3 separate regions of the Homo sapiens genome follow, and regions 1 and 2 are each linked to region 3. The links are contacts of gene promoters, found by promoter capture Hi-C in human tissues and cell types (Jung and others, 2019). All regions are on one chromosome and are shown on one strand. Each heading gives the region's core, a stretch centred on a gene start or on the middle of the fragment in contact. The rest is flanking DNA. Distances are from core to core; before and after follow the strand shown. Region 1 has its middle 21 kb from the start of LINC01671. Region 2 overlaps SLC37A1 (solute carrier family 37 member 1). Region 3 holds the start of ZBTB21 (zinc finger and BTB domain containing 21).

Region 1 (3,513 bases), core at 742-3,241, 580 kb before region 3:
GACGCGGTCACAGACCTGAGAGGCCGCAGCATTCCCTCCAGCACCCCGCTCCAAGGATCCCAATTCAGGCGGGAGTCCTGGATTTTGGCTCCAGCGTAGTTTGGGAGCCCTGGACGTGCTCAGCCCAGCCTGCTTCCCACGCTGAGCTTGCAAATGGCTGGGGAGGCTTTGGAAGAGAGCCGGGTCTTTCCTGCAGGGTGACAGCAGTGCCATCAACTTGCCGCCCAGTTGAAGGCCCTCCAGGAGTTCCCTATCCTGATTGAACCCACCCCAGCTCCTGTGAGTCACTGGCACTTGGGTGGTTTTCTTGCCTTTCATATAATTTGGAGGCATGTATTTCTCGTTTCCTCGGCAGTCTGGAGACATTTTTTTTTCATTTCGTACTGCAGTTTCTAAAAATAACGTTAGTGGTAACTTCAATTTCTTACTCATTTCTCTCCTCCTTCAGTAGGAGGCGAGGGGATTTAGAGTCCTGCTGCTGAGGGGATGCCAGGGGACAGAGCACCCGTGGCTTGTTCCTCTCACAAGGGTCCACCCTCCTGCCTCATCCCGGTGGCATGTGTGTGATCACCTGGGGACAGTCCAGGCAGGGCTCGTTCCCTCCTGCAATGCCACCAGGCACAACCAGCATCCCCAGAGGGCTCTGATAGGACCCTGATCCTGAGGGCTGCGCTGTGCCAAGTCACGTGGCCTGTCGGGTCGTCAGTGGCTTCGTTCGTCTGGAAAGTGGAGAACCCTGGTGATCTTCATCCATAGAACAGGAGGCTGGACAAATGGCTGTGTAACACGGCAGCATTGTTTGGGTGCAATGGTATGATCCAATAATTTGCTTAAAAATACGTAATAAGGCTGGGCATGGTGGCTCACGCCTGTAATCCCAGCACTTCGGGAGGCTGAGGCAGGCAGATTACTTGAGTCCAGGAGTTTGAGACCAGCCTGGCCAACATTGTGAAGCCAACATCATGAAACCCCATCTCTACAAAAATACAAAAATTAGCCAGACATGGCGGTGTGAGCCTGTAGTCCCAGCTGCTCGGGAGGCTGAGGCAGGAGAATCGCTTGAACCTGGGAGGCAGAGGTTGCAGTGAGCCGAGATGGCGCCACTGCACTCCAGCCTGGGTAACAGAGTGAGACACCAGCTCAAAAAAAAAAAAAAAAAAAAAAAAGCAAACCATATGAGATAAAATGAAGGCTTACATGGTAGATTTGAAGCAGGAAAGGCAGGCTGTTGACAACTGTCAAGGCTGAGGGATGGGATATGGTGCATATTAAGCTGTCTATTTTTATGTACCCATGAGAATTCCCATAGTAAGAAAATGTGAAAAGAAAATCATAAAACGAAATCACAAGCAAGGCTGGTTTGTTGCAGCCTTTTTTGGGTTGGATTTGGGTGAGTCTAGGCTTCCCAGCAAGCTCGAGGAAAGGACAAAGGTCGGGCTTGTGGCCTGGGTCCCGGCCCTGAGCGTGGAGTCGAGTGAGGCTTGGCTCCCACCCCTGAGCCGTGGACCTGGTACCTGGGTCCTGACCCTGGTCAGCCACAGCATGGCTTTGGGAGCTGAAGCAGGTCACCCTGTGAGGCTGTTTCTCCACTTTTTACTAAAAGGCGGGGACAGCGAGGCCTCAGAAGGAGCCCTGGGAGGAGGGGGTGGCGGATGGGTGGGGAGTGGGTGCCCCACGAATATCCTCTTGCCCCCATCCTCCCTCCTCGGCCAGCCCCTGTCCCCGGAGCCCCCACTCCTGCCCTCCCCTTCTATCCTAAAGCCCAGGCTGGCTCTGGATACATTTGATTTCTGATTTGTCATTAAATGTGACAAGCGAAGCCAGAGGACCCTCTGACACCCAGGACTGAGTGCAGCCCCAGGAGGGGCTTGCCGGGGTGTGGTGGAGGGGGCAGTGTGGCCCAGCTGGGGCGGGGGTGGGGCCAGGGCCGGGGTCTCCCGATCTCTGGATATTTGAGCTGCGGACCGGACAGGATACGCTCCTCCACGGGGAGGGCCTCAGTGAGCCGGGGCTGGGGGGCCCTCTTGTGGCAACAGAGGGCCTGGGTTCTAGGTAACAAAGCAAAATCAAAATCTGGGAGCGGCCTTTCGGGAGCCCAGGCAGACGCAGCTCACCGGTCCCCTGAGGCCACCAGCCCAGCAGGCTGCAGGGAGCCTGGATCTGCAGGCGGTGGCCGAGGCCATGGTACAGCCCACCCAGCGTTCACCCTGCGGTCCGTGGCGATGGCCGAGGTCCTGGAGTACTGATGAGAGGTGCCCTCCCAGGTGCCAAAAGGAGCTTCTGCAGACACAGTTCCGCGTGCAGGGCTCCCGGCAATCGAAGTGCAGGGCCGGCCTGGGCCAGAGCACAGGTGAGTGCAGACATAGGCTGCCTTTACAAAAGGCACAGAGCCGTGGCCGGAACCCCTGGGTCTGGTCTCCACGGCTGCTTTTGGGGCCTTAGTTTCCTTATCTGTCACATGGCCTCTGAAGCTGCTGTCAGCTCTAAATTGTGATTATTGGACCAAAGTTGAACCTGTTACTCTTCTCTGAGAAGTGGCTTTCCCTCTGGTCCTCCCATTTCTGACTCTTCTCACTTACTGCAATTTTCCAACGGCACCTCCCTCCAACCCCTTCAGTCCCCATTGTGAGAGTCACGTCCTAGGGCTCATCATTGGCCATGCCCGCCGGTCTCCAGAACCTCCGCTCCCAGGACCTCACCCACCTCCCATCTGTCCAGATCAGCCCCCAGCAAGCTTTCCGGCCACTGGGACCACTCATTCCCCACTCGCTCCATCATCCACCTCTTCACCAGCCTGAGACCAGGCTTGGGTTTCCTGGGGCACCAGCCTCGCCTCTCCTTTCACGCTCCTGTCCCTTGTCCCTCCAGCCTTAGTGGTATGGAAAACCCTGATCCTGGTGAAATTGGTGAAATCAGTGACCCTCTGTGGCCTGTGCTCCTGAACTTCCTTCCTGGACCTCCTCTAGGGTCTGGAATGGCCTTTCCTTAGATCTGCAGGGTTCATTCCATCACACCCTTATCCCATCCTCGAAGACGACCGTCAATACACAATCATACACCCCCCGCTCCTGCCCCAGACTGTTTACTGTTCCTTTGTTAGTCGTCTATTGCTTCCCCTAGACTCGACTCCATGGGGCCGATTTGGCTCTCCCGGTTTATTACCGTATCCCTGCGCTTATTCTCAGGGCTTGGCAATACGAGTGTGCTGAATGAATGAACAAGCAAATGAATGCTGCTCTTCTACCATCAGGTTTGGAATCATGGCTCTGGATTTGGGTAAATTTTACAACACCAGGCACCCAAGAGGTGTCTTCATGGGGCTGGCTGCAGAGTGGGCCGTTCTGAAGGCAGAGCTTCTAGAGCTGGTGACCTTGCTGTCCCTAAGGCTGTGGTAGGATGCGGGGCTCACACAGAGTGGCTGCAGCAACTCTTGGGAAAATGTGTTAAAAATACAACTGTCCCAGGAAGAAACAGCCTTGGAATAGAGTGTTTACATTCTTTTTGGTACTCGCC
Region 2 (3,623 bases), core at 908-3,407, 520 kb before region 3:
TCAGCCAACACAGAGGGGGTGTGTGTGTGTGTGTGTGTGTGTGTGTGTGTGTGTGTGTGTGTGTGTGTGTGTGTGTGTATCATCTGCATTTGACGATCTGTCTAGTCAACTTTACGTGGCTCATTAGGCTGTGTGGGTGCACTGATTCTAACCAGTCCTTCACATTCCTTTTATAAGGCTACAAGAATTCTCCAAAGCATTATCTAAGTCCTGGAAGAGCAATTACAGTTTTGGTACCAAAAGTAGGAGCGACCAGCCAGGCTCTCCCCCACAGACAACAGCACCTGCCCACGGCCAGCCTCCTGCGATGAGTCACAGGTGCCACGTGAAATGCATTATACACACTCAGGGACAGACACGCAAATGCTCCACTCATGAAGGATACAGAAATAGATGGAGGAGCTTCTTGGTCATTGTTTACTTCTCAAAAATGGAATCATTCTATACATCCTTATGCACATGTTAACTTCTTACTCAAAGTACCTCCTGGAAATGTTTCTGAGTCAACTGGTTTGCCTGTGATGAATTCTTTTAGGGACCTGCACATTTCATAATACGGACTTGTGATAATTTATTCAAACTTTTACCTACTTATTAGGTTCCCTTGATATCCAGCATTGTTTTTTTTTCCTTTTTGCTTTTTTTGGTCACTACAAAGCTGCCATAAAGATGCTTATGAAGATATTCCTAAGTAAGGTGCTTTTATTTTTAGGGTGAAATTCCCAGAAGTATGTCTGAAGGCTGTAGTGTTTTTTATTTCACTGGGTGTCACCAAAAGGCGCTAACGCTTGACATCCCATCAAGAACGCATGAAAACTCCTCTCCCCTCACGACCAGTGAATAGCGCTTACTGCCCTGGGCAATGCTGTGCCAGCCACTGAGCACAGTGTTGCCTTAATTTGCATATGGAATACCGGCAGACTCGAACACCATTCACATATTTCCTGGCGATCTGAATTCCGTGTCTGTAAACTGCTTGTTCATCCCCCTTGCCCGTTGTTTCTTTGGGTTTCCTAACTTCACACTCACTCCTACGATAAACATAATTTTCTTCTTGGATTTGTACTTTTTGTATTTTACATTCATGTCTTTAATCCATTTATTTTATTTTACTTTTTTGAGATGGAGTCTCACTCATGTCACCCAGGCTGGAGTGCGGTGGTGTGGTCTCGGCTCACTGCAACATTCGCCTCCCAGGTTCAAGCGATTCTCATGCGTCAGTCTCCCAAGTAGCTGGGATTACAGGTGCCCGCCACCATGCCCAGCTCACTTTTGTACATTTAGTAGAGATGGTCAGGCTGGTCTCGAACTGCTGACCTCAGGTAATCCACCTGCCTCGGCCTCCCAAAGTGCTGGGATTACAGGTGTGAGCCACAGTGCCCGGGCCATTTGTTTTTATAAAATAGGGATTCAACATTTATTTCTTCCTGACGAATAACCAGTTGTGCCGACACCATTTATTAAATTTATTAAATAAGCTCTGTCAAATATTCCATATTTTCTAATCTATTCTACTGACTTTTTTGTCTATTCTCATGTAATATCATAATTTGATTATGGTATTAAAATATGTTAATCTTTTGCATATTTTCATATCATAAAATGTTATCTTTACACTTTTCTTGATAATTCCTGGACATTCTTTCATACAAACTTTAAGATTATTTTATTCAATTAAAAAAAACCCTGCTAAGATTTTCACTGGAGTTGCATTTTATTTAAATATTAACACTGGGAGAATTGGAACTTTCCAAATAACAAGTTTCCCACCCATAGTACATACTTCCAGCTTTTCAGACTTTGTTTTCTGTCTGCCACTGAGGATTATTTTATTTCATTTTTTTTTAGATGGAGTTTCACTTTGTCGCCCAGGCTGGAGGGCAATGGTGCGCTCTCGGCTCACTGCAAACTTCGCCTCCCGGATTCAAGCTATTCTCCTGCCTCAGCCTCCCCAGTAGCTGGGATTACAGGCGCCTGTCACCATGCCTGGTTAATTTTTTTTGTATTTTTAGTATAGATAGGGTTTCACTATGTTGGCCAGTTTGGTCTTGAACTCCTGACCTCAGGTGATCCGCCCACCTCGGCCTCCCAAAGTGCTGGGATTACAGGCGTGAGCCACTGCGCCTAGCCAGTTTTCTCCTTTTAAGTCCTGTGTGTCCAGAGAGGGGTGGGCACACTCACATTCAAATCAATGCTGCCATCCCCCTGGCTCCAGGGACCCCTGCAGTTTAAGCTTCTCCGGGAAGCCTCTGCTTTCAGGTTTCTTTTCTGGCCCAGTCCAGGTGAAAAGAGCTCGCACTAAGATCTCTGCTGGGAGTCAGACTCACCTGTCTACCAGCTTGGGCAGACGCTTGCCTTGAGTCCTGAGGCTAGGCCACAGCTGGAGCAGCAGATAGAAGGGACAGGGTTGCACTTATAACACCACTATCCTCCCAGCCCTGGTTTTATCATCATCATCGAGAAAAATACAATTAATCAGCAGTGATCAAAGGTAAGTCTAAACATTCCATTTAACTAACTTAAATGTGACCTGGTGTGCCGTGTCATTCTATAAATGACATAACAGAATAAGACTCACTTTCTAATTCACAGCCTCTGGTTCAATTTCAAGTAAGCAAATACATTTTGCTTTGGTTTTGCTTACAATATTCTGGGAAATGCAGGCTATAAATAATCACTCAACTGTTTTGTGGGTCAACAGAATCACTACTACTTTCAGTTTCGTTGATGCCATTTATATCATGAGCTCAAGCACACGGGCGCTTCAGAAGGCACTATAAAGTTTAGTTTTGATGTGGTGTGATGTTCTGATCTATCTTGAAAGGTAAAGAAACCCACAGGATTCAGCGTCAAGCCAATCCATGCCCAGGCACATCGCAGCTGCTAGGTCAGGAAATCTGTGCGTTTAGGAGGCTCTGAGGGTGATGCTGGGACTGTACTCAGGTAATTAAACCCGGACAAACCCTGAGGCACAGAGAGGATGAGTAGGGGCCCTGGAGGCAGCCTGACCCACAGGGAATTCTCGAGTGTGTGGCAGCCCTGCCTGGGGAACGAAGACCCGAGCCTCAATTTCCTCACAGGGGCACTCGCAGGGTTGCTGTGAGGATCACAGGGGTAATGTATGTGGCAGTTTGTCATACCCCAGGGCTCTGTAAGCGGCAGTTATTTATATTGTTACTTATGACACTGAACTAAGAGCTGACCCTGACGCCGCCTCCTCAGAAGCCCTAAGTCTTGAGTGGCCTGGACACCACTACACACGAGAGTCAGGGGCGGGGGCTTTGAGATGGACCACCAGGAAAGCCGGGAGAGGGACCGGGACAGGGCTCCCACTTGCTCCTGGCTCACAGGGGCCCTCATAGTCATCAGGTGGACCCCAACAGCTGTGGCCTGACAAAGATTCCCCCAAAGGCCAGCCCACCTTACACGCTACATCTGCCCCAACAGCCCCCCAGCCCAACAGGTGGTGCCTTCATGGAGATGCCCATCCCTGCACGTAGCACTCAAGGCAGTTCTCCCACCTGTAAAGCTGTTTTTCTTCCCCTACAATCCACACCCAACCTTTCTAGGTCAATCCTGAAACCCCACACAAGCTCCCCAACTACACCAGATCCTTCAACTCC
Region 3 (3,687 bases), core at 1,188-3,687:
TTTAGAAAAATCGCTTTGGCTGTAATGTGAGAGTGGATTAAAGGAGGAAACCTGGAGGCTGGGAGAGCAGTTAAGCGGTTACGTTACCAGAGAAACACTGAGGAGGTCGGACGGACAGGACTTGGGGATAGACCCAATACTGGAAGTGAGGGAGGAGCCCACCATGGTGCCCACATTCCTGGCTCCAGCAACTGGGCATATGTTCCAAGCATGGATGAGACTGCATAGGGTGTGTGTGCCAAGAAACCCAGTGCGAGCATGGGCAGGGGCAGAAGGGCCAACACAGCCGGCCCAGGAGGAGCAGTCAGCCAAGAGGTGGGAAATCCAGGGAATGAGGCGTAACTGAAGCAATCACTGCTGAAGCAATTGGAAGCGTGTCACAAATCAAAGAGAGCAACTGAAAGATGCAACGGTTTCTGCCAGATTTGGCAGTCAGGTCAATTCCAGTGAAATGGTGAGGCCAAAAGCCTGATCATATAGCTCAAAGCAGAGACACCAATGTGTATCGTCCTGAGGAAGGTTGAAAAAACAAAAAACAAAACAAAACAAAAAAACAGCTAAGCAGGTGGCTAGAAAGGGATCGCTCAAGGGAGGCTGCTTCCAGCATGCGGTAAAGCCAGTACTAGTTTTCTCACCTATAAAACTAGGATAACAGCACACACTCCCCCAGCCTAATCACAGGGGAACCTAAAACTCAAGGTTCTTTTAAGACTTATAATCACTGTTGCCTTCTACCTTCAGAACAGTCACTTTGTGCTTTTCCACCATACAGTTCAAAATACAGACACTCTTTAGGCTGGGCATGGTGGCTCACACCTGTTATCCAAGCACATTGGGAGGCTGAGGCGGGTGGATTGCTTCAGACCAGGAGTTTGAAACCAGCCTGAGCAACATGGTGAAACTCCATCTCTACCAAAAATACAAAAATCAGCTAGGTGTGACGGATGCACCTATAGTCCCAGCTACTGCCGAGGCTGAGACGGGAGGATGGCTTGAGCCAGGGAGTGGAGGCTGCAGTGAGCTGAGATCATGCCACTGCACTCCAGCCTGGGACTGACAGAGACTCCATCTCAGGAAAAAAAAAAAAAAATTTAAAGTGTTTTAAAGTTGTAGGAGAAAATTTTTAGGTGCAAGATTCTTTATGTAAGACTAAGAGTCCTCTTAAAATTAGTCAAACTAATAATCTACAACAGAGCTGTTAATTTGGCAACAAATTTTTAATTTGTATCAATCTAATGTCTGTCTTTCACATACTTCCAAACATTACATAAATTATTTTACCTAGTGCATACAACTTTCAAAAACTGTATTTGGCAATTAACAGACCCCTGACAATTATTAACAGGGGTTTTACATCCCGGAGTTTGAGTGTCTGCGGGAGAACCGTCCCTGCAGGAGGCACTCCCCCTCCACCTGCGACCCGGGCTGGGAGAACGCGCGGAGGGCTCCCTTGAGCGGTCTCCGCCAGCGAGGCTTTCCTCCCGGTCGGTGTTGACAGTGTGGCATTTCTGTTATCTAATTTCTGGTTTTGACTGAAAGCGAAGTGAGTTTTCTCATCAGTGGAGTTGTAATATTTCTGCAAAAAAAAAAAAGATCACAGCCCTCCGATGAGCCGGGCACTATGCGAAGTCTCCGGCTGCCTGCGGGCCGCTGTGGACGCCCCGGCGGGGGTCAGGACCGACCCCCATCTGCGCGGCGAACGAGCCCGGACGCCCTGGCCGCGGCCGCCGGGTCCCCGCCCAGGGGCCAGGTGGCCAGGTTGCGTCGGGAGGAGGAAATGGAAGCGCTCTGAGCGACTAGCGAGCGGCAGGAGCCGCCTCCCGCGGGCTTTCCTCGCGGGCCGGGAGCGTCTGCCGCCGACCCGAGGACCGCAGGGCCCCGCTCGCCGCCCGCGCCCGTCAGAAAGCCGCGCGTCGCTCCCGTCGCTGTCGGGGTCGTCGGCTCGGGGAGTCGCCCGCCGTCCACCGGTGAACGGGAGCGCGTCCTCCCCTCCGAGGGACTAAGCGCTCGCGCCACGCATCCCGCCGCGCCGGAAGCGGGGACTACTGGCGGCCCAGCTGGGCAGGACCGCGGCCGAATGACCCGGGGCGACCCCGCAGCAAGGGCGCCTCCGGCAGGCGGCAAAGTCCCCTGAGAATCGGCGCGCTCCTCGCCGCGACGGACTCCACCCGGCCGGGGCGCTCAGCCTCCTCGCCGTGGCCCCCAGCCCGGCCGCCTCCCCTAACGGCCGCCGCAGGCTCCCCTCATGGACCGAGAGCGCGGGCTTGCAGCGCGGCAGCGTCCGTTCGGCGCGCGGCTCCGGGCAGGCCCGCCCTCCCCCGTCCCCCTGCGCCGCGAGGCCCCCCCCCCGCCCCGCCCTCCGGCGCCCGGCGCCCAATCAGAGTGCCGCGCACGTGACGAGCGATGCCTGCGATGACCTCATCCCTGGTGTGGGATGACGTCAAATTCAAGATGGATGGAATCACAGCGGCAGCGGCGGCTGCGGCGCGCGCGAGCCGAGTGTGAGCGGAAAGGGGCCCGGCGTCTGCCTCGAGACTGAAGACCGGTGAGTAACTGTCACGCCCCTAGCTCTAGGAGAACTGCGGGGCTCCTTGGGAGGCTACAGCCTCCCCGCAAAACGCGGCCTTTCCTGACGTAACTCTGAGGTGATTTCTCTCCTCTTTTTTCTCCACCAGCGGGTTGCGGGCTCCGAGCGCTTCTGCGCGTGCGCGGGACCTGGGCGCTCACCGAGCATGTCCCGGGTTCCCACGTAGCCGATTGTACCTTCACACTGCGCACGCTCCCTGCCAGCACTTGGCCTCGCCCTCGCGAATGCGCATGCTCCATTCCCTCACGGGCTTCACTCTTCACCCTGGCCGAGCTGCCCCTGGGGTAGGGGACACGCCTGGCCCAGGCGCGCGCCCCTCGCGCGGAGCGGTTGAAACGCCTCGTGGAGAAGGGCGCGTTCTCCTGTTCCGGGCAGGGGTTGGGGGCCGGCGGCCCGGGCCGCGGGGTGTGCGCGGAAGCTGGCCGGCGGCCTTGGGGACCCCGCACCTGCCGCGACCCGCCGCTCCCTTCACGGTCCGGGACCTAGCCCCGCCGCCCCGTCCTCGGCCCGGTGGCCGGAGCGTGACCGCTCGGTGCCCGCTGGACGCTCCCTCCCCGCCCCCGGCCCCTCCCGCGGACGCCTGGACCTCACAGCGCGTTTTTTTTCCTCCAGAGCCCCCGCAGACCTTGTCTGGGACTTCCCGGCGGTCCCGCAGAGCATAGCACCCTCCGCCGGCCAGGAGCCCTGCTGCTCGGCCGGCGACCGTCTCCCCGCTTGGAGGAGCCCCCTTCCCCCCGTCCGAGGTCCGCGGCTGGAGGGGCAGGGAGTCAAGACGCCACCCGTGCCGGCCTTAGAGACGCCCGCGGCAGCCCCGCCACATCTCTTCCCGGCTTTTCGGGAACACGCCCCGTAGTCCATCCTCAGCGGCTCCTGCTTTTCCATCCCAGCACACCGCTGGGGGCTCGCACTCTGCCCCCGGTTGCTATGCGGTCCCAGCCACGAGGGCTCTGCGGTTCGGGAGAATTCCGCAAGAGCGCGCGTTCGGAGGCGGGGTGTTTTTAGACAGGTGCCCCGGTGGGATTGCCTGACCGAGAGGACGGGGAAAGTTAGACTTCACACGGCCTGGGGTTTTTCCTTTCGTGCAAGCGCTCACAGCCCTG

The links. Contacts are between HindIII fragments. The study calls those that stand out against the background at their distance.
Region 1: a contact is called between a fragment that was not itself captured here and the fragment with the promoter of ZBTB21 in region 3, in 1 of the 25 tissues and cell types used here (spleen).
Region 2: a fragment that was not itself captured here is called in contact with the fragment with the promoter of ZBTB21 in region 3 in 1 of the 25 tissues and cell types used here (hippocampus).

Annotation. Positions count from the first base shown.
Region 1 is chr21:42,591,941-42,595,453 of GRCh38, reverse strand. No RefSeq gene overlaps it. Among named protein-coding and RNA genes, the nearest start is that of LINC01671, 21 kb to the left of the region's middle. RefSeq lists enhancers at 3,254-3,513, 1,242-3,513. The HindIII fragment of the contact is 3,564 bases long and covers 210-3,513 here.
Region 2 is chr21:42,527,051-42,530,673 of GRCh38, reverse strand. All of the region lies in intron 3 of SLC37A1 (solute carrier family 37 member 1), which reads right to left. It overlaps LOC107987299 (a long non-coding RNA gene), which reads left to right. Exons shown (of 2, transcript XR_007067878.1): 2 at 1,849-3,623. Among named protein-coding and RNA genes, the nearest start is that of SLC37A1, 15 kb to the right of the region's middle. The HindIII fragment of the contact is 7,112 bases long and covers 1-3,623 here.
Region 3 is chr21:42,009,110-42,012,796 of GRCh38, reverse strand. ZBTB21 (zinc finger and BTB domain containing 21) reads left to right here and starts at 2,437. Exons shown (of 3, transcript NM_001098402.2): 1 at 2,437-2,545. ZNF295-AS1 (ZNF295 antisense RNA 1) reads right to left here and starts at 3,603. Exons shown (of 2, transcript NR_119384.1): 1 at 3,213-3,603. RefSeq lists silencers at 1,625-2,364, 2,805-3,114, 3,155-3,264. The HindIII fragment of the contact is 7,901 bases long and covers 1-3,687 here.